Linked DNA regions of Homo sapiens: region 2 is linked to region 1. Evidence: promoter capture Hi-C in 16 types of primary human blood cells and fetal thymus (Javierre and others, 2016). All regions are on one chromosome and are shown on one strand. The core of a region is centred on a gene start or on the middle of the fragment in contact, and the rest is flanking DNA. Distances in the headings are between cores, read along the strand shown.

What was found. Contacts are between HindIII fragments. The CHiCAGO score rates a contact against its expected background, and 5 or more counts as called.
Region 2: a contact is called between a fragment that was not itself captured here and the fragment with the promoter of BHLHA15 in region 1, in 1 of 17 cell types (neutrophils). The highest score is 6.0, in neutrophils.

What each region holds. Positions count from the first base shown.
Region 1 is chr7:98,208,939-98,213,426 of GRCh38, forward strand. BHLHA15 (basic helix-loop-helix family member a15) reads left to right here and starts at 2,501. Exons shown (of 2, transcript NM_177455.4): 1 at 2,501-2,560; 2 at 3,318-4,488. The coding sequence starts at 3,372. The coding sequence ends at 3,941. It overlaps LMTK2 (lemur tyrosine kinase 2), which reads left to right. Exons shown (of 14, transcript NM_014916.4): 14 at 1-700. RefSeq lists a silencer at 2,373-2,562. The HindIII fragment of the contact is 21,052 bases long and covers 867-4,488 here.
Region 2 is chr7:98,084,938-98,089,268 of GRCh38, forward strand. No RefSeq gene overlaps it. Among named protein-coding and RNA genes, the nearest start is that of LMTK2, 20 kb to the right of the region's middle. The HindIII fragment of the contact is 834 bases long and covers 2,204-3,037 here.

The DNA of each region.
Region 1 (4,488 bases), core at 1,251-3,750:
ATTTGTAGAGTTAAGGACCTACTGCATGCCTGTCCCCAGGGCCCCGGTGGAAGGAAGGCAGCGCCTGCTCTTCCTTAACTCAGCCCATCATCTGAAAATTCAGAAGTGAACCAAGGGTTAGACGCCAGAGGTTGGGCTTCTGTTAGAGTGGCTTCAAAACATGAGCCTTATGGGAAGTAGCCTTAAAAAAAGAATGGGTATACGCAGTGACTTCCGATGGAAATCTCCAAAACAATATTCCTAAGTAGCAATGGGGTTGGCTCAAGTCTTTATTAACAAAGAACATTCTCTTTCATCTATAAAGAAATTCTTAAAGATGCATTGACAGTGTTGAATTACCAACAGCCTGTGAAGATCAGTTTGACCGGTGTGGACACGTGCTGGTTAAGCACTCAGGCCTACGTGGGCCGAGCGGGATCTTGATCATGGGGCTGGTGTATGGATCCACCGTCGGATTCCGTCTGCAGAGGAGGACGTAGGGGGCCGTCACACCCACCAGGCCTCCCTGCTGTGCTTTAACACAGGCAGAAGAGGTTCATGGCAATATAATAGTCAATGAACTTTCAGTTTAAATTGTGTACATTTTTAAATTGTAAGATTTTTACTGTATATTGATGCATAGTGTGATTCAATAAATTGCTTGTAATTTAAAAACTATTTAATATTCAAAATAAATATAGTTATATATTTATAAACTCTGTTGGCCGCGTTTCTTCTGTGTTTTGTCCACCGTGCAAGGGCCACCTGGGTGGGTGGCCTGGCCCTGCCCTGCTGTGAGCGCCCGCAGCCTGTGTTCCAGGCCCCTGCCCTGGTCCCTCTGGAGCTTGTGTGACAGACCTAAACTCCCCGCACTCCTGAGGACATAAAGCTTTGTATAACCACTGGAAAACCAAACCTGTTTAGTGTTCCTGCCACCTTGAAGCATGTCTATAAACCATGCCTTTGCACTCATGAATTTCGGAAGCATTTTCATTTCCAAGGACCTCATTTGGCCCAGCCTCAAATGAGCTTTAGGCCAAGAGAAGAACTAACTAACCTTGGCTCCAAGCTAGCCTTTCTGTGCCCGCCCCCCGCCCCACTATGGCCCCTCTGAGTTCCCACCCAGAGGTACTGAGACAGAGCGGCGAGACCCATGAGTGTGGAGCCCAGGCCTGCCAGCCAGCGTGACACTCACCGCACCCCCAGCAGCGTGCAGTCACCGCACCCCTAGCAGCCCCGAATAGTCCCTGAGCAAGATGCTGCTTTGGCTGGGCGTGGTGGCTCACGCATGTAATCCCAGCACTTTGGGATGCCGAGGCGGGTGGATCACTTGAGGTCAGGAGTTGAAGACCAGCCTGGCCAACGTGGAGAAACCCCGTCTCTACTAAAAATACAAAAATTAGCTGGGCGTGGTGGTGCATGCCTGTAATCCCAGCTACTCGGGAGGCTGAGGCAGGAGAATCGCTTGAACCCGGGAGGCGGAGGTTGCGGTGAGCCGAGATCATCTCGCTCCATTGCACGCCAGCCTGGGCAGCAAGAGCGAAACTCCGTCTCAAAAACAAACAAACAAACAAAACAGGCGTTCCCAAGGACTGCACACCTGCCCAAGGAGCCCCCCACCCCCACCCCAACTCGGGCTCCGCCCCCAGCCCGTAGGAGCCCCAGGTTCCCCTAAACATCCCGGGCGGCGGGGCGGGGGATCCCCTGGGAGATGCCCGCGTTTTCGCGGAGCGGCTCGTCCCGGAGTGCTCCTGGGACTTGGGATCTGTGTGCTGAGCCTGAATCGGGGCTGCCCCTCCTTCCGGCGGCTCCCAGAGACCTGTTTCCCATTGGCGGAATGGGCCCGGGCCCCGCCACGAGTGGAGAGGCCGGGCAAGGAGGATCGCGGGAGGCATGGATGCGGGGGTGCTGTGTCAGGGGGAGGGTCGGGGAAAGCGGGCGGGGGGAGGCTGTCTCGGGCACGGATATGGGGTAGGCGGGTGGGAAAGGCGCGAGTGGAAATTGAGGGGGAGGATGGGGAAAAGCAGGTTGTGGGGAGGCTGTCGGGGGACGGGAGTAGGGGAGGTGGGGACGCAGGCTGTCTTGGGGGGGCTGTAGCGGGAGAATGGGGAGAGACGAATGGGGGGAAGCTATCTCGGGGCGGTTGGGGGGCTGTCGGGGGAGGATGGGGAGAAGCGTGTGGGGGAGGCTGTCTGGGGGAACGAGGGTCGGGGGCTGTCGGGGGATGGTGGGGAGAGGCGGGCGGGGGTGGCTGTCTTGGGGGACGAGGGTGGGGGGCAGTAGGGGGAGGATGGGGAGAGGCGGGCGGGGGAGGTTTTCTATCTTGGGGGCGGGGCGGAAGCTGGGGGCGGGGCTGCGCGGCCACCTGGTCCGGGAGCCCCAGGCGCCGGCCTCCCGCCCGCCCGCCCGCAGGTGCCGCCACTGCTGCCCAGCGCCCGCCGGGACACCCGGACCCCGGCCCCGCCCCGGCCCCGCCCCGAGGGCTCATTTGCATGCGTCCGCGGCCCCTCCCGGGGCGGCTAAAGCGACGTGTCCTTGTCCCCCGTGGGCAGCCTCGGCGCGTGTGGCCGCGGATCCCCAGGTAACCCGGGAGCTGGGAACTCGGGTGGGGCCGCGGGGAGGGGACCCAGGGGCAGGACCTGGCGGTGGGGTTGTGGGGGTTGTGGGGGCTGTGGGGAAACCCGGGTGGGGGACTTCTGGTCTGTCTGGAGGCTCCACGGGGCCCATCCACGTGGTGGGATTGGGGGCTGCCGCCAGGCCCTGGCCATTGCCGACCTCTGACCTCCACGGCTGCCCCATGTCCGCAGCGGTTCTGGCCCCAGTGCTGTCCCATGTCCGCAGCGGTTCTGGCCCCAGTGCTGTCCCTGCACGTGTCACGTCCAGCGGGGCAGGACAGTGAGAGCCTGGTGGCTGGAGTCACTGCCCGCCCACGGGATGAAGTCAGTGCCGCCTCCGGCAGAGGCGCCCCCTAAGCTAGGGTGGGGGACGCATTCTAGGCAAAGTGTCAAAGGTCACCGAGCTCAGGAGGCACTCTGGGGGCAGTGAGGGGCATGAGCCAGAGGAAGATCTAGGGGTCAGGATGAGTCATCCTGGGGGAAGGGGGACGCAGGGACAGGGACAGATTCCAGAGGTCTGTTTGAGGTAAAGCAAGGGCGTGGGTGTGTGTGGGGTCAGCCCAGGGCTAAGCGTGTGAACAGAAGGACCTCCAGTCGCAGAGCGCCAACCCCTGCCCCTGGTACCATTGCTGTCAGCAAGGAGGAGGCTGCCAGGGACGGCACCCCAGCGGGTCCCCTGCCCATGTGGGGTGACCACAGAGTGTCCTGTGTTCTGGATTTCAGCTCCAAGGGCCTCACCTTCCTGCCGCCACCTCCTAGGACAGCCAGTCCAGGGCCATGAAGACCAAGAACCGGCCCCCACGGCGCCGGGCCCCGGTGCAGGACACAGAGGCCACCCCCGGGGAGGGGACGCCCGACGGGTCCCTGCCGAACCCGGGGCCAGAGCCGGCCAAGGGTCTGCGGAGCCGGCCGGCCCGGGCCGCAGCAAGGGCTCCGGGCGAGGGCAGGCGCAGGCGGCCAGGACCCTCCGGGCCCGGTGGCCGTCGTGACAGCAGCATCCAGCGGCGGCTGGAGAGCAACGAGAGGGAGCGGCAGCGGATGCACAAGCTAAATAACGCCTTCCAGGCCCTGCGTGAAGTCATCCCCCACGTGCGCGCGGACAAGAAGCTCTCCAAGATCGAGACGCTCACGCTGGCCAAGAACTACATCAAATCGCTGACGGCCACCATCCTGACCATGTCCAGCAGCCGCCTCCCAGGCCTGGAGGGGCCGGGCCCCAAGCTCTACCAGCACTACCAGCAGCAGCAGCAGGTGGCTGGGGGTGCGTTGGGGGCCACGGAGGCCCAGCCCCAGGGCCACCTGCAGAGGTACTCCACGCAGATCCACAGCTTCCGAGAGGGCACCTAGCGCCCAGTCCTGGGTGGGGGTGGCGGTGGCCGCAGCTGCCTGGCCTGCTCCTCCCAGCCCCAGTCCCTCCAAGCCACGAGCCCCAGATGGGCGGTGACACCCCACAAGGACACGGCCTCAGCGGTTCCATTTTCCCCCGAACATTCAGCCACTTCCCTGGAGCAATTTTTCCTGCCCCGCTGGGGACCAGCGAGTGGCCTAGTTGCGGCTGTGGCCCTGGACAGCGGCGTGAGGCCCAAACCTCTAGGTAGGGCCCAGTTGGATCCTGATTTTTCATTGAGCCAGGCAGTCTCAGCCCGAGTTGAAAGGCCTCCTTAGCCTTGGAACTAACGTCTCTTCACCCTGACTTCTGGGCAAGGGGAGATCCCAGGAAAAGGTTTACCTGCAGGTTTTCCAAGGCCAAAGCCCCAGCAAGGACCCCCTCTCCAACCTTTGTTATAGGGCTACATGGGGCCTGGGCTCAGCATCCTCATTTGGGGTAAACTGAGGCCCGGGACAAGCCCGGCAGAGCCTAAGGCTGCTCGGGGAGTGGGGCCAATCAGAGATG
Region 2 (4,331 bases), core at 1,371-3,870, 120 kb before region 1:
GCCCTCTTAGCAGATGAGTTGTGGGTTGTGATTACAACCTGGGTGTACAAGGGGCAGTGAAAAGCCCAATTTCTTTCTTTTTTTTTTTTTTTTGAGAAGGAGTCTCATTCTGTCACCCAGGCTGGAGTGCAGTGGCGCGATCTCAGCTCACTGCAACCTCCACCTCTCGGGTTCAAGTGATTCTCCTGCCTCAGCCTCCCAAGTAGCTAGGATTACAGATGCCCGCCACCACAGCCGGCTAATTTTTGTATTTTTGGTAGAGACAAGGTTTCACCATGTTGGACAGGCTGGTCTTGAACTCCTGACCTCGGGTGATCCACCTGCCTTGGCCTCCCAAAGTGCTGGGATTACAGGCATGAGCCACCGCACCCAGCGAAAAGCCCCATTTCTGTTTGTTTGTTTTGTTTGTTTGTTTGTTTTTGAGACGGAGTCTCGCTCTGTTGTCCAGGCTGGAGTGCAGTGGCGCGATCTCAGCTCACTGCAAACTCCGCCTCCCGGGTTGAAGCGATTCTCCTGCCTCAGCCTCCCGAGTAGCTGGGATTACAGGCATGTACCACCATGCCCAGCTAATTGTTTGTATTTTTAGTAGAGGCAATGTTTCACTGTGTTAGCCAGGATGGTCTTGATCCCCTGACCTCGTGATCTGCCCACCTTGGCCTCCCAAAGTGCTGGGATTACAGGCGTGAGCCACCATGCCCAGCGAAAAGCCCCATTTCTAACAAAGTTTGGCAATTAAATAAGTAGCCACAACTCCTTCTGCTATTAAATAATAAAGCCATTGAGTGTTACACAGAAAGAACCACAAATTCCGGCCAAGCCTGTTGGTGGCTGTTGGAACCGCCCTAATAAACAATTTCAGGTACAAGCAGGTGTGGCAGAGGGAGGTGCAGGAAGTTCCCTGGGGCCTCCCAGCCTAGGCCCCCCAGCAGTGGGAGTGGGGGCCTGCTGGTGAGGCCTGGCTTCCTGCTGGGCTCTGAACCCAAAAAGAAGCCAAAGGCAGACCCAGAGAGCAACTGCAAACAGTGATGAGATGGTTGATTTGGGTGACCTTGGACCCGGGATTCTGGACTGCTGGGTTACAGGGGAGTCACTTCCTCACTTCTCACCTTATAGGGTCACATGGAGCGTTTGCTCCCCAGCGATTTGGGGAAGGTAGAAGCGACTCCTTAGAGTATCTTGAAGTAGGGGCTTACAATCAGACAGACAGAGAAAAAGCTCCCCCTATTCCTCTTTCCCGCTGCCCCTCACTGAGATACGTGGATGAGACAGGGTGGCATTGCATGGGGTGGTGGAGAGTCCCAGGCGGGTCTTGCTGGAGGAGCTCCCCAAGGACTCCCTTTGCTGGAAGGCTCCAGTCCCCGTTCTGGTCCAATGCCAAGGAAGGGACAGAGGATGACGCTGCATGAGCTGATTAATCCCTGGGAAGACAACGGGCCCTGCCCTACCTGCCCATGTGCCAGTCTGGCACCAACTCGCCCAGCCTGTTCCAGCTGGCCTGGTAGAAACTGACGCAGCAGGTGACTCCCTCGGTTTTATGGGCTTGGGGCAAAAGTCGTGTGGCCAGCAGAGTGGCTGAGGCAGGTAGAGTTTTCCACAGCGGCCTGGGCTCTCCTTGTCCTAGAAGTCTAACAAGTCATCTTCTTGTTTACCCTGGTGCCTCCCTGGAACATAACCTGACACATCACGGGCACTTCCTGTGTGTGTTGAAATAATTGTCAAAGAATTGGTAAGGAGCAGATGTGAGCAGAACATGTGCCCTGCGCAAGAGAAGCCCGTGGTCCCCAGAAACTTACAATTCTTTTCTTTTTTAAATTTTTTCTTTTTGTTTTTAAGATAGGGTCTTGCTGTGTCACCCAGGCTGGAGTGCAGTGGTGTGATCGTGGCTCACTGCAGCCTCTACCACTGGGGCTCAAGGGATCCTCCCACCTCAGCCTCCTGAGTAGCTGGGACCACAGGCATGTGCCACCATGCCCAGCTAATTTTTAATATTACTGTTTTAAAATACATGTAATTGTATTGAGTCTATCTTCTCTAAGGACAAAGGTTTACTCAGCAACTATTAACTTCAGGGTAGAGCTTGTTCTCCACCTCTGCTCTTCACCCTACTCCCCAGCCCCGATCTCACCAGAAAGCAAACCTTAACAGGGTCTCTCACCTGAGGGGTATCCAGGAGCAATTTGGTCCACACCTCATCTTCGCAAAAAGCTTTTAACGTATACTTTGTTGTTGTTGAGACAGGATCTTGCTCTGTTGCCTAGGCTGGAGTGCAGTGGTTCAATCATGGCTCACTACAGCCTTGATCTCTTAGGCTCAAGTGATCACAATCCTCCTGCCTCAGCCTCCTGAGTAGCTGGGACTACAGGTGTGCGCAGCCATGCCGGCTAATTTTTTTTTTTTTTTTTTTTTTCTGTAGAGATGGGGCCTTGCTATGTTGCCCAGGGCAGTCTTGAACTCTTGGTCTCAAGTGATCTTCCCACCTCAGCCTCCCAAAGTGCTGGGATTACAGGCATGAGGCACCGAGGCATGAGACGGGCCTCAATGTACACTTTTGACGTTATTCGGTTTTGACTCTGATACTTAGCAAGGATGCCGGAGCCAGGCTACCTGAGTGTGAACCCTGCTTCTGTCACTTACTAGCTATGTGACCTTGGCCAAGGTCCTTATCTTCTCTGTTTCTGTCTCCTCATCCACAAAATGGGAATAAGGATAGATTAAGCCAATCACCAAAAGCAACCTATTGTATGATTTCATTTATATAAAATGTCAAGAATCAGCTGAATGCAGTGGCTCCTGCCTGTAATCCCAGCATTGTGGGAGACCAAGGAGGGAGGATCACTTGAGGCCAGGAGTTCAAGACCAGCCTGGGCAACATAGCACGACCCTGTCTCTACCAAAAATAAAAACAAAAAAGCCCAGAACAGGCAAATCCATAGAAGCAGGAAGTAGATTAGTGGTTACCAGGGGGAATGGATGGGGAATGACAACTAACGGGTAGAGTTTCTTTTGTGGGTGATAAAAATATTCTAAAATTAGATAAAGCTTAAAGAGTTATTACTTATAAAGTGCTTACAGCAGTGTCTGACACATCAAAAGTGATCTGCAAGTCATTGTCGAATAAAACTTACCTCGAAAGGAAGGCATGAATACTAATGAGCTTGGAAAAAAAATGTTCATAATACAATTTTAAAATGGTATTTCATTCCCGAATCTCACTATCTGCTGTGTACTTTTTATCAATCCTGCTGTAATTATTTTGTGCATAGCATCATTATATAGCTGTATAAATTATGTACATTAAAAGTGTTAATTTGTTAGACTTAAATGTGTTAGCACGTTTTTACCATATTGGGTGGTTTCCGCACCCCCTCCAAAAATGGGTGGTGGCTCAAGGCTCTGTTGGCAGCTGGTGAGCTGTCCCTGAGTTACACAGGTTTAGAGGCAACAACAGGTAAGGACTTTGCACAAAGGCATTTGGAAAGACAGCCAATTGTCCATCATGATATCTCATCATTGCCCAGTTTGGTAATTGATGTATCATTTGCATTAATGATATACCACACATCATTATGCAGATAAAGTCGGCTATCATCCAGAATGAGGCACACAGCCTTTGATTGGCAGAGAACTAGGGAGAGTCAAATGACTTTTAACCTACTTGGTCTCCTTATTTGCCTAATGCTGAATTAAAGTCACGCAACCATGACAGGGATTCAAGTCAAGCAAAGGTGATCGTAAAGACCCGCAGGAGGGTGTCCTATGGCGAGGCCACTGATGTGCCGGCTAGGGGTTAACAAGTGGCTCTTGGCTGGGTGCGGTGGCTCATTCCTGTAATCCCAGCACTTTGGGAGGCTGAGGTGGGAGGATCACTTGAGCCCAGGAGTTGGAGACCAGCCTGGGCAACACAGCAAAAACCCATCTCTACAAAAAAATGTAAAAAAAACTCAGCCAGACGTGGTGGTGCATGGCTGTAATACCAGCTACCTGGGAGGCTGAGGTGGAAGGATTACTTGAGCCTGGGGAGGTCGAGGCTGCAGTGAGCTATGGTCATGCCATTGCGTACTCCAAGCTAGGCGACAGAGCAAGACCCTGTCTCAAAAAAAATAAATAAATAGGCGGGGTGCTGTGGCTTATGCCTGTAATCCCAGCACTTTGGGAGGCTGAAGCGGGAGGATCATGAGGTCAGGAGATCGAGACCATTCTGGCTAACAGTGAAACCTCGTCTCTACTAAAAATACAAAAAATTAGCCAGGTGTGGTGGCAGGCACCTGTAGTCCCAGCTACTCGGGAGGCTGAGGCAGGAGAATGGCGTGAACCCGGGAGGCGGAGCTTGC